Regions from separate parts of the Homo sapiens genome. Here regions 1 and 2 are each linked to region 3. Evidence: promoter capture Hi-C in 16 types of primary human blood cells and fetal thymus (Javierre and others, 2016). All regions are on one chromosome and are shown on one strand. The core of a region is centred on a gene start or on the middle of the fragment in contact, and the rest is flanking DNA. Distances in the headings are between cores, read along the strand shown.

Region 1 (4,298 bases), core at 203-2,702, 1.6 Mb before region 3:
AAAGAAGTCCACTAGATCCTCCAGGGTTTTATAGTGTAGGGAGGAGGGCCCTTGTCCACCCACTGTCATTATGTATGTTTTGTGTGAAGGATGCAGTACATCCTTCTGAGAAATGCACCATTAGATTATTTCATTGTTTGTGTACAAAGTGTACTTACTACCCAAACCTAGATACAAGAGCCTACTGCACACCCAGGCCATATGGTATGGCCTGTTGTTCCTAGGCTACAACCCTATACAGCATGTTACTGTGCTGAATACTGTAGGCAGTTTTAATACTGTGGCAAATATTTGTGTATCTAAACATAGAAAAGTTATAGTAAGAATATTCTAATCTTATGGGACCACCTTCATATATGCAGTCCGTCGTTGACCAAAATGTCATTATGCAGTGTATGACTGCATTTTGTATTTCGACAGTGAATCATGAATAGGACTAGAACGTGTGGGGATGAGCGGTAGCATGTAAAGTAACAAAGTTACAGCCTTTCTGGTCTCAGTGTCCTTATTTGTAAAATAATGAGATTGAGTTAAATGATGTTGGATGGCCTTCCAGCTCTAAGAATTTTATGGAAATAGTCATGTATAGCATGGGCATGTAGTAGGCTATATCCTCTAGGCTTGTGTAGGCACCTGAGGACACTCTGTGTTGTTCACATAACAGTGAAAGCACCAGACGATGCAGTTCTCAGAACATACCCCATCATTAAGCGACACGTGACTACTACAGTTAAGCTTCTTCTAAGGATACAATCTCATACCTTCAAACTTACTTAGGGTGAAGTCTGGTTTAAATTTTGTAGACTATTTAGAAAATAAGGAATATTTTGCAAAACTCACAATTCTTATATTTTGAAACAACACAATAAATGAATAAGTTAGAATGCCATTTAAGTAGCACTTTATATAAAGTCTGCTAAGGTGGGTTTAATGAGGTTTAGATTTCTGAATAGGCCTGGAATCATATTTTTGCTATTAATTTTCTTGAAAAGTTTTTTTAAAAGGAAAATTGAACTTCATCCCAATTTTGGATTTTCACAAATTCACAGTTAGTGAGAATTATGGTAAATAACTTGAAATGGAACAGAGAAACTTCGGAGGTACAGACTTCTCACCTTATGCCATACTAGATGCTGAAGTTGAACTTGAAGCCTATGCAGGCCACAAGGTGGCACCCTTAGGCCATATAAATAAAGTGCTGTTGCAACTAGAAAAAAACAGTTTTAAAGAATCAAGTAACTTTATTATGTAATGATAGACTATAAACTGGAAACCTCCTGAGGAGGAAGTCCCTTGCTAAGAATTTTAAACATGGTAAAATTACATAGTAAAGATTTTGGAAAATACTAAGATATTAGAATGTGAAATAGAATATCCAAAATAACCAGCATTCCTTTTGTGAACAATTAATTTTGATTTGTCTTAAGCCAATACCTTTTCTAAAAGTTGAATTGTAACTAAACTTTAATAATGCAAACAAATAATAGTTAAGCAATATAAATATTGCCAGAAATATATCAGAAATCGTTGTTGGTGTTTTTTGATTTCCTGATGGAGAAAGAAAAATTTAGGTGTTTTCTTGTTATCCCAATCAGTAGGAAGTACTTGAGAATGATGAGTCTAAGAATTTAGTCACCTGTGAAGTAGAAGACTTTTCCAAAAATATTTTATTGTTATTTTCCCATACTTTAAAAACTTATTTTTATGAGATGATTAAAAACAGTTAATTTGGCTTATGTGTGCTAGAATATTTTCTGTGAAGTAAAAGACATTTCCAGGTATTGTTTCTACAGTTTAAGAAGACGTTCACTTTGAATGAAATGATTGTAAAGAGTTATATGGAATGTGTATGCTAGACTAATGTTCTCCCTTATGTTTGATGAAGACATTTGCTAAGCTAATTCATTAAACAAAAAATCTTATGAAACAAACTTAGTGACTTTTTTTTTTTTACTCATGAAATGAGTATAGTGATAGTATGCATGTACCTTGTAGGGTTTCTATGAGGATTAAATGAGTTATTATAGGAAAAACACTTAGAACTGTGCCTGCAGTATAACTTAATAAATGTAGAATACTGTGTATCTCAAATGTTGCCAAGCAATTATTTGCATAGTAATACCAGACATAACAAACAGGAAATTCTTTTTTCTCTTTTCATTAAGCTTAATTCCAGAAGAACATCTACTAAGTAATATCTGATTAACAGAGTTTTAATTATTATATGAACTTAACTCAGTGAACTGGCCTTTTTTGTTTTTTGTACAGACAGGGTCTTGCATTGTTGCCCAGGCTAGTCTCGAACTCCGGGGCTCAAGCAATCCTCCCACCTTGGCCTCCCAAAGTGCTGGGATTATAGGTATGAGCCACTGCACCTGGCTAGTGGCCTGTCTTTAAGTATTATTGTGTAATTCACATACTTCAAATTAACCTCATTTTTATGCATTAATAGTTTTAATTATGAAGTTACTAATAGCTTTGTATTGAAGACATCAAAAAGTTAAGAATTTTAGACACAGCCACATTAGACTGAAATGTTGGAAATACCACAAAATGTGTGTTTTCTACAAAGTTGGATATAAAATAAAAATGTATGTCTGTGGTAGAGCTACATCTGCCTAAAAATTGCTCCAAAAATTTGCTAAAAATTTGAACTTCTGTTATTATTGAGCCTTGGAAATAAAATTCAGAAGATTCTGCTTATAAACTCCTTCTTTCCAATGTTCTTCATAGTACTGGGATATCCTAAAAGGATAGTGTTCTTAGTTCCTCCTTTTATTTACTTCCCACAGAAAGAGAGCAACTCTTTTCCTTTTTTAAAGAATCCAAATAAATATTCACATATTTTATCTTTATTTAGGACAGATCACTAAAAGGTTAAAAATTGGGCCCTAGCCATATGATCAGTGAGAAATTACTTCCTAGGCCCTTCTAATACAATTTTCCAAAAAATAGAGAAATAAGGAACTTAAGTCCATCCTAGTTTAGGATGAACCATAAACCAGAATCTTAGAAGTTTTGCAGTGAGCAAAGAAAGCATTGCATCAAGATTGACGTCACAGTAAAACTATTCACCGGTCAGAGACTGGTTCCACAGCCATACATTAGACAGCTTTCATCTGCATCACAAAATTCTTTTTACATTTTGGTTAGCCAAAAACATCATTGAATCTATGTGATAGGAAAAATACAGGACAAATTCTTTTTTAATGTGCTAAGGAATTCAGTAAAATTATGGTACATACATAGAATACAGTCATCCCTTAGTATCCAGTTTCTTTTAACAGCATCTGACAAGAAAATTGTCTCTCTGTGGTACTCTCCTAAGAGCAGTGTGCCTTTCAGGGGAGTCAGACTATCACATATCTCTCCCCGCTACTTTTCCCACCTCTCCAAGCAGGCTTCATTATGTTTACCTAGGTTTCACATCCATTCACAGGGGCACAGACTCAGTCCTCAGTGAATCTTGAAAGATTACTGGTTCATTATTCACACTTTTTATTAGTGCCTGTAATTCTGTTTGAAGAGGGATGGGTTTCTCTTCCCTTAGTATCCTCTTCAAACCCCTGTTTGAAGAGGGATGGTTTCAGGACCTCATGCAGATACCAGAATTCACAGATGCTCAAGTCCCTGGTACAGAATGATATGGTATTTGCATATAACCTATGCACATCTTTCCATATACTTTAAATAATCTCTAGGTTACTTATAATACCTAATACAATGTAAATGCTATGGAAGTAGTTGTTACACTGTGTTGTTTAGGGAATAATGACAAGAAAGAAAGTCTGTACATACGTGTTCAGTATAGATGCAATTTTTTTCCCCAAATATTTTTGATTCATGGTTGGTTGAATCATTAATTTGATTCATGGTTGATTGTGTGCAGCTTTTAGTTTCTTTTTTTTCATATTTATTTCCTAAAAATTTTTACAATGCACTGCAGAACTAGTCATAAGAAAAAATATTACTTTAAAATCTTGTGACAATGAACTTAATCGAGTGTACATTCAGGAAAGAATTATTGGATTTCCCTATGTCTAGACTTCAAGAAACTTAATGTGCCAGGCATTGCAGTCAGCCAGTATATATAGACAAATCAGACCCATTTCTTGGCTTCTAGAAACATATTCTGGCAGGAATTTTAGGACAGTTGTGAACAAGCAACAAAGTTTTACATGAACTGTTTTCTCCTGGTTATCTTGACAACTTACAGCAGCTGCAGGGCATATTGGAAATATATAAGCTAAATATGAAGCCCCACCCTGCCACTTAAAGCAGTATGGCCCTAGACTCAA
Region 2 (3,917 bases), core at 553-3,052, 1.6 Mb before region 3:
CAGGCCCTGTTTTTTTTTTTTTTTTAGACAGAGTCTTGCTCTGTGGCCCAGGCTGGAGGGCAGTGGCACGATCTTGGCTCATGGCAACCTCTGGCTCCCAAGTTCAAGCAAGTCTATGCCTCAGCCTCCCAAGTAGCTGGGATTACAGGCACCCACCACCACGCCCGGCTAATGTTCGTATCTTTAGTAGGGATGGGGTTTCACCATCTTGGCCAGGCTGGTCTTGAACTCCTGATCTCATGATCCACCCGCCTCGGCCTCACAAAGTGCTGGGATTACAGGCGTGAGATGCCGCGCCCGGCTGGCACTGTTATTTTTTAAGCTGCTGCATGATTGTAACATGCTGCCAGGTTGAAAACTACTAAGCTAATATTCCCAAACATGTCTGATGTGCCAGTCACCGTGGTGGTGCTAAGGATTCAGTGGTAGAGACACTGCCACAGAAGGTGATAGCTTTCTGCCATCAGGATTCACAGGCCAAACATACCGTCTCCTCTGTCTAGAATACTTCCCTTGTTCATTACATAATTAATTCCTCATGCTTTGCATCTTAGATTAAATATCACTTATTCAAAGACATTGTTGCCCTTCTATCTAAATTAGCTCCCATATTGTTTGCCCTCAAGGAATCCTTTCTCTTTCGCTTCATGACACTTATCTCGGTTGTAATTACAGGTATTCCTCCGCCATTGGAACTCTCACGATCAAAACTCAGGACCAGATAGATTTTAGTAATGAGGAAGAAGAGGCAGACTTACCTGAAGAGTGTAAAGTTTAAGCTTCAGGGCTCTTGTGGTAGGCTGGATAACAGATCCTCAAAGATGTCCACATCCTAATCCTAATCCCCAGAATCTATGAATATGTTGCTTTGCATGGTAAAAAGAACTTTGCAAATGTGATTAAGTGAAAGATCTTGAGATAGGGAGATTATTCTGGATTATCCAAGTGTGCCCAATATAATCACAAGGGTCCTTATAAGGAGACAGGAGAGTCACAGAGGAAATGCAAGGACAGAAGCAGAAGTCAGAGGGGTGTAAAAATGCTCTACACTGCTAGCTTTGAGGATGGAAAAAGGAGCCATGAGCCAGGGACGTAGGTGGCCTCTAGGAGCTGGAGAAGGCATGGCAACCAACTCCCCTGAGAATCTCCAGAAGGAAAGCACTTCCCGCACTTTGATTTTAGCTCAGCGAAACTGATTTTGGACTTCTCACCTCTTGAACTGTAAAATAATCCTTGTTTTAAAGTATTAAATTTAGGGTAATTTGTTACAATGACAATAGGAAACCAATATATAGCCCTCCCTTGTTCAGGCCCCTTCCAAGGCCCTGGGAAGCAGTGCTGATATGGTTATATGTTTTTGTAAAGCTTGCAAAATTAAAATACTTTACCTACAATTGATTAAGATTTCTCTCTTTCCACTGAGACTTCCGGAGTATTCTTCTACTGGCTAACATTGGAGTGACTACAGGCATTTTTGGGATCCAGCTAAACAGAAATGCAGCTGGGGGTACTTTGGTTTGCATTTAATGGGAGACGTTCATGTGGTTCGTGGTCACTTCCATGCACTATTAACTTATTGCTGGAGAGTAGGAATGGCTTCTGCAAATGCTCCTGTATTAGTCCATTCTCACACTGCTATGAAGAAACACCTAAGACTGAGTAATTTATAAGAAAAGACGTGTGATTGACTCACAGTTGAATCACAATTCTGCATGGCTGGGGCAGCCTTAGGAAACTTACAATCATGGCAGAAGGCACTTCTTGACAGGGTGGTAGGAGACAGAATGAGTGCTGAGCAAAAGGAGAAGCCCCTTATAAAACCATCAGATCTCATGAGAACTCACGCGCTCTCATGAGAACAGCATAGGGGAAACTGCCCCCATGATTCAATTATCTTCACCTGGTCCTGCCCTTGACATATGGGTATTATTATAATTCAAGATGAGATTTTGGGCAGGGACACAGCCAAACCATATCAGCTCCTAACAGCCACTGTGTCAAAGTGCCCAGGTGTGGTAACATGAAGGAGCCATAGAATATGTGCAGCATGCAGTTCACTTTAATCTCATCAGAGAAAAAAGCTGTCTTCACCATCCCTACATTTTTTCATATCAATCAAAAGCAGTAATTCATGAAGAGGAAGAGATAAATTTGAATAGAAGTAATGGAGAGGCTCTCAGATTGTTGGATGAGTCAACTAATGAAGAGTAAATCTTATTAATACATTGGGAAAAGCTTTAATTTCCTTGCTAATTTGTCATAGTTTATAGGCATCAGTGAAGATATTATAAACTCAATACACAACCAGAAGGAGGACATCAATAACAAACTGATTAATAAATGTCATCAATTTAACAAGTAATATTGCTGATTAGTCATAGCACAATAAAATGTGAAATGCCCTAAGATCTTATAACTTTTTTTTTTTTGAGATGGAGTCTTGTTCTGTCACCCAGGCTGGAGTGCAGTGGTGAGATCTCGGCTCATTGTGACCTCCGCCTTTTGGGGTTCAAGGATTCTTGTGCCTCAGCCTCCTGAGTAGCTGGGATTACAGGTGTGCAACACCGTGCCTGGCTAATTTTTGTATTTTTGTAGAGCCAAGGTTTCACCATGTTGGTCCGGCTGGTCTCGAACTCCTGACCTCAAGTGATCTGTCCACCCCAGCATCCCAAAGTGCTGGGATTACAGGTGTGAGCCACCGTGCATGGCCAGATCTTATAATTCTTACATGAAAGAAATGTAATAGTGATTTCCTCTAATATGACAATAGTCCTAAACCTTTACATGACACTTTCAAGAACAAATTATTAGATGGTGTAGGTGGTCCTTGAATGAATGAACCATGAGATACCCTAGAGCAGGGGTGTCCAATCTTTTGGCTTCCCTGGGCCACATTGGAAGAAGAATTGTCTTGGGCCACACATAAAATACACTAACACCAGCAATTGTTGATGAGCTAAAAAAAAATTGCAAAAAAAAAAAAACTCATAATGTTTTAAGAGAGTTTATTAATTTGTGTTGGGCTGCATTCTAAACTGTCTTGGCTGCATGCAGCCTGCAGGTGTGGGCCAGGGGTTGGACAAGTTTGCCATAGAGCGTGGCTTGGTTGGATGAGGGTGCTAGAATTCAGAGGACGGTCACTGTGCAGTGAGAGTTGTCTTGGCTGTAGGACTGGAGTTGGTAAAATGAAAAAAAGAAAAAACTAGTTTTGCATGAAAGAATGTTTCCAGCATATGAATGTCCCACCACACTTTTAGTTAGTCTTGGCTGTACATGTTGCAATAAGTCAAGGAACCCTACAAAGTAGGATGGAAGGATTCAAACTGCGAATCGCTTGAACCCGGAAGGCGGAGTTGGAGTTTGCAGTGAGCCGAGGTTGAGCAACTGCACTCCAGCCTGGGCGACAGAGTGAGACTCCGTCTAAAAAAAAAAAAAAAAAAAAAGATTCAAACTGCTTTTGAAAAAAGTAAAAATGCAGGGTTATATTTTAGAAATAGTGCAGCCAATCATTAGTGGCTATTCCTAATATGTCAATTTCGGGTCTATAGAAGACCTACCTAGAGGCCAGCAACTATTAATTGATGCTTATAGCACCTAATGAAACTGCCCTTGCCTTTGAAGCCCCCATTTAGCTAAGGGGATGGGATGTGAATTTAGAATAGGACGTGAAAAGTGCAAAATGCTCCCGGACTCAGATCGGATAAACCTCTTCTAGGCTGTCTTTCTCTTCTGAAGCCACAGTTTTGATGCTTTCCCTAATTCAGAGCAGGCTTTCCCGGAGTCTCTGACTCAGAGCAGCCCGAGCCACCGTGAGGACCGCCCACCTGCAGGGGGCGCGCCGGGGGCTGCAGCGCGAGACCGCTCTGGCCCAGCGGGGACTCCGACTACCCCTGTCTGGCCCCTCCCCTCCGCCCGTC
Region 3 (4,436 bases), core at 289-2,788:
GCTCTTTGGTAATGGTAATATTACACTGAATTATCTAAAAATAATATACAGTCAGGGTTCATCTGCTAAAACCTGTGCACTGGTATATGAGATAAATGACTGATGGTCGGATAGGTAGGCTCACTGAATTTCAGCCCAAACCACAGCAGAATTTTATATAAATTAGAGAGCTATAGACTAAGTAGATCAAAGAAGATCATTAAAAAGAAAAAAAATTGTTAAAGGACAGATTGTTAGGGCCAGACTGTATCAGGTGAATAGAGAAACGGCTGCGAAGTTCCTGCCCCTTCAGAGCGCCTCTGCCTTCCCAAGGAGTTAATTAAATTAAGATGCCTTCCGCATAATCTAGGTTCTGTTTCTCTGTGCTCCCCTTGCTCCCCCTGCGTGAGTAATTTTCTTGTTCTGCCCAGGACTGCAGTTTGTTTAGCAGAGAAAGTGGCTGTCTGCGCCCTTTCGCTTCGGGAAACGCCAGCCCCCTTTTGTTCTCGGCTAACAGGTAGGAAGACAGATCCGGGGCTCCCTCCACAAACACCTTTTCCTCGCTCCTTCTTCGTACAACTGCAACTCCTTTCTCACTTGCCGTTTCTCAGGAATCCGAGCGTTTAAGCCCCCGGGGAGTTTGCTTTTGGGCCCCCTCAGTCAGGACTAGAAGGTGGGAGGAGAATTTTAAAGCCAGCACGAGGTTGACAAATTACCGAGGACTGAACTATTTCCCTCTTGAAATGTGCCTTCAGCGTCGCTGGCTGGGCAGGCACCGGGTGTCCGGGCCCGTCCACGCTGCGCTGCCGCGGCTGCCCCGGGACAAGTCGACCCAGGCTTGCTAGGGCAGGAGCAGAAACACCATGGGATTGTGGGGTTTGATCTCAGTGTACGTAGACCAGCTTTTATAAGAAGTCTTGCTGACCGCTTAGATTAAATATCCCAAAACAAAATTAAGAAACAGTATGTAGAAATGTGTGTGGTTGGGTGTTAGCTGGGAGTCGCGTGCCAGGGACCCAAGGAAGTGAGAAATACAGTGCCCTGGGATTGCATCCCCATGATCTATTTTCACATCTGAATTTGGGGCACACCAGACCGAGAATCTGAACGCCTCTTACACCCCCAAACCCTTCCTTCCAAAGGGCAGCTACAGCCCCTTCCCAGAGCGAACACTCACCTCCCGCAGAAAGGTCAACCTGGGCAGCCGCGCTCAGACCCGGTCCAGGCAGCGAGGCGCACAGCTTGGAAAGGTCATTGAGTCCACGCCTGGCAAACTTTTTTTTCCGCGCGGAGTCGCAGGAGTCGCGGACATGATCTGGAGGACCGCGAGCAGCTAAAGCGAGAGCAGATCCACGTCTTCGTCAGAGTCTGTGGACGCGGACTGTGTAAAGACCCGGGGTGCTTGGGGCCGGCGTTCAGCGCTCGCCCAGAACCTCGCTCTTCGGCGAACCTCTCGCTGTCGACTCCCGGTGAGGTCGGAGCCCACAGCCTTGCAGGGCCATCACCCTCCAGCAGCAAGCACGCCGAGCTCCGTCCCCGCCCGCGTCCCTCCCCAGGCTGCCCCAGGCCGGGAGTCTTGGGCTTTAGTAGCGGCCCCGCCTCCCCTTCGGGCGGGCGTCCCGCCGCCGCGCGGGGCCCTCAGCGCCCTGGCTCCGCCTCCGCGCCCGGCGTCTGCTAATGGTCCACTCTGTTTACTTCTGTTTGGATAGCAACTGAGTCTTAAAGGCACAGGTTTGCTCGAGGTTTCCCTGTTATAGAGACGCAGCCGTAGGTGACTCAGTTCAAAACTCACACACAAACACAATACCCACCCCCTTTCTTCTCGTTGCCACTTTTCCTTATACCATTAGAAACTCAACAACTGCTTCTCTGCCTCTCAAAGACTCCACAGAGAATCCCAAAGGGCATTTAGTATTTTTATTTGGTTCGCTCGCCGGCTTAATTTGCACATCTTAACACATTCAATACAACTACCTTCACCGTAAAGTAAAATAATTCAGGTCTAGACTGCATTCTCCAGCATAAATCACTCTTTCCCCAATTTTAAACAGTTTTGTACATACTTTTGGTCAATTATGACTACATGTGTAGTCTGCTTTCGCCTGCTGTTTTCTAAACGAAGTTTGTTTACAGAGGTGGCAATTGACTAATTTAGTAATTATTGCAAAGACGCGTGGAATGCCCCAGGAGAAATTTCTTCCAATATTTAAGCTTTAATCGGCAAATGTTCATTTCATACGCAGTAAACCAACTTGGTTAAAACAGTGGGCATCTGCAACCCATTGGCAAAGAATAAAGAATCCATCTGGAATTGGTGAAGAACAATCATTTTTAAAATTTAGGAAAATGCGATTCTAGTTTTTCAAAACATTTACATCTTCATTCCCAGCAAAAATTGAGTTCAATGTTCAGTCTCCAGGAAAGTTAATAGAATTCAAAGTGCAGTGATACATTTTTCAGGTCCTTCTAAAGGTTTGGTCTTGTGTGAGTGTAACTGCAAAAAGCACTTCAACCTCTCTGGAATAGGGGTGACCGAGTGACAGGAAGGGAATGATACACACCCATTTTAAGCAGCTTCTTTTCAGATGTGATTTGCGTGATCAACACTAAGCAAAAACGCCCTTCGTCCCAGACGAGTTGCCAGAGGGGATCTGTGTTACTCCACGGCAAGCCCGCACTTTGAGGACGTAGATCTTCAACCAAGAGGCTGTACAATTCAAAAGTGTTCCGTCGAAAGATGGTTTTGAATGAGACGCCCCAAAGGACAATTCAAAAAATCTCAATCGTGCGGGGAAGTAGATAAATACAAGCAGAGGCTAAAAACTGTCAAAAGGTTAAGCAGTAATTGGGGAGTCAAGCAGAAGCTCCCAGATATTATTTTATTAAGATAAAATTCTTTCTATTTTATTTATGCCGAGGTGGAGAGAATTTTTCGTTCCTTTGGTAAAACATAACAGGGGTCGCAGATTTTTTTTCTGTCTTTCCAATTTTAAGTTCGCAAAGATTAAAAAGTGAGCTTGAAACGGAGATTCGAGTGTTTAATATCCTGCAGTACTTAACTGCTTCAAAGTAGATTTGACACACAGAATGGAAGCAGCAGAATGCCTAAGCATTCAGATTTTTTTTTTTTTTAACGTTTTGCCTGGTGGGTCCCATAGGGGTGCTTTCATTTTAGAGCTCAGTCCTGAGCCTCAGCTGCGGGATGCCTGCGGTCCTCTCTCTCCAACTGCCTCATTCCTCCTGCAGCTTTTCTCAGTTTGGGAGATTTGGAGGGAGCTTTCTCTTCCTTCAGACTCCCCAAGCCTCCCACTCACGGGGTGGTGACCTGAAGAGCGTTCCTACGCTTCGCACTTCCTTTTCATCAAAGGGGAGGCAACTCCCCAGCAGCGGGCTTCACACCTTTCCCGCCCTTAAGTATGTGTACGTTGGGTGCAGAACCGTTTGGTTTTCCCGAGGGGTAGGCAGAATTTCCAACCCCACGAGCTGCTCCCTCTTTCCGCAAACCTCCTAACCCCGGGGTTTTTCCATAAATGTGTTTACTTCGTCCACGCCAGCCTGCGAAGTTCCAAAATGGAGTCTGGGCCACGCCGGCGTTCTGGGCACGACTACGGTCTCTTGAAAAGGTAGGGAAGAGTCGGCGAGCTCCAGCTTTGGGGGATGCCGCGTGGCCCGGCCGCGCCTAGGCCGCCTGCTGGCCCTGCCGCCTCGATGGGCAGGTGCGCGCCGAACGCGGGGAGCGGCCCGGAGGCTGAGCGCAGCGCAGCACCGTCCGCGGGCCCTCCTGGGCCACCTCTGCGCCCACTGGGGGCTGACCCTTGTGTTTCTCCAGGCTCAGACCCAGCCAGCCCCTCGTCCCGGCCGGCGTCTAGGGCGCAGGCATTGCGGGGCCCACCCAAGAGCAGGTCACCCGCCAGGCTCGCCGCCCGCCCCCAGCAGCCCTCGGCGCAGAAAGGCCACGCGGCCCACGGGCGAGTTGTGGGTTTCGGGTGTGCGGAGAGGGAAGTCCCGGAGTCTGCAGTGGCCCGGCTGTGCCCCCGAGGCTGTCTCCGCGGAGCCGTTCCATTCCTGCCGCGGCCCCGGGGACCTGAGCTGCTGGCTGGCTCTGAAATTTCCGCTGACCCGGTCATCTGCTGTCCTCGCGGCTCTGGACTTGCGACACCAAGGACGCTCTCAGGGAAATGGCTAACTGACGAGGGGCGCGCGAGCAGCGGCTGCCTGAACCCCAACCGCTGCAAGTTTACGCCCCGGGAGGCCGGGATGAAGGCCAGGGACAGGAAACGCGGAGGAGGAGGTGGAGGAGGAGGGGGCGCGCAGCGCAGGCCCCTGCCCCCCGGCCCACCCAGGAGGCTCTGCCAGCTAAGCAGCGAGCAGGTGTCAGACACAGACTTCCCTGGAGTTGACTCTCAGCCTCTCCCACTCGGACCGCGCGCCTCTCCCACTCGGACTCGGATCCTCGA

Evidence for each region. Contacts are between HindIII fragments. The CHiCAGO score rates a contact against its expected background, and 5 or more counts as called.
Region 1: a contact is called between a fragment that was not itself captured here and the fragment with the promoter of OSR2 in region 3, in 1 of 17 cell types (fetal thymus). The highest score is 6.0, in fetal thymus.
Region 2: a contact is called between a fragment that was not itself captured here and the fragment with the promoter of OSR2 in region 3, in 1 of 17 cell types (fetal thymus). The highest score is 7.4, in fetal thymus.

Annotation. Positions count from the first base shown.
Region 1 is chr8:100,537,850-100,542,147 of GRCh38, reverse strand. All of the region lies in intron 1 of ANKRD46 (ankyrin repeat domain 46), which reads left to right. Among named protein-coding and RNA genes, the nearest start is that of ANKRD46, 20 kb to the left of the region's middle. RefSeq lists an enhancer at 197-246. The HindIII fragment of the contact is 1,430 bases long and covers 738-2,167 here.
Region 2 is chr8:100,559,760-100,563,676 of GRCh38, reverse strand. No RefSeq gene overlaps it. Among named protein-coding and RNA genes, the nearest start is that of ANKRD46, 2.0 kb to the right of the region's middle. RefSeq lists enhancers at 3,615-3,754, 3,722-3,917 and a silencer at 3,755-3,917. The HindIII fragment of the contact is 870 bases long and covers 1,368-2,237 here.
Region 3 is chr8:98,941,544-98,945,979 of GRCh38, reverse strand. It overlaps OSR2 (odd-skipped related transciption factor 2), which reads right to left and starts at 1,538. Exons shown (of 4, transcript NM_001142462.3): 1 at 1,157-1,538. LOC112268016 (collagen alpha-1(I) chain-like) reads left to right here and starts at 3,370. Exons shown (of 2, transcript XM_047422523.1): 1 at 3,370-4,436. The coding sequence starts at 3,637. It also overlaps a transcript of STK3 not described here. RefSeq lists enhancers at 273-773, 774-1,274 and silencers at 1,420-1,779, 3,632-3,891, 4,142-4,291. The HindIII fragment of the contact is 2,241 bases long and covers 1-2,192 here.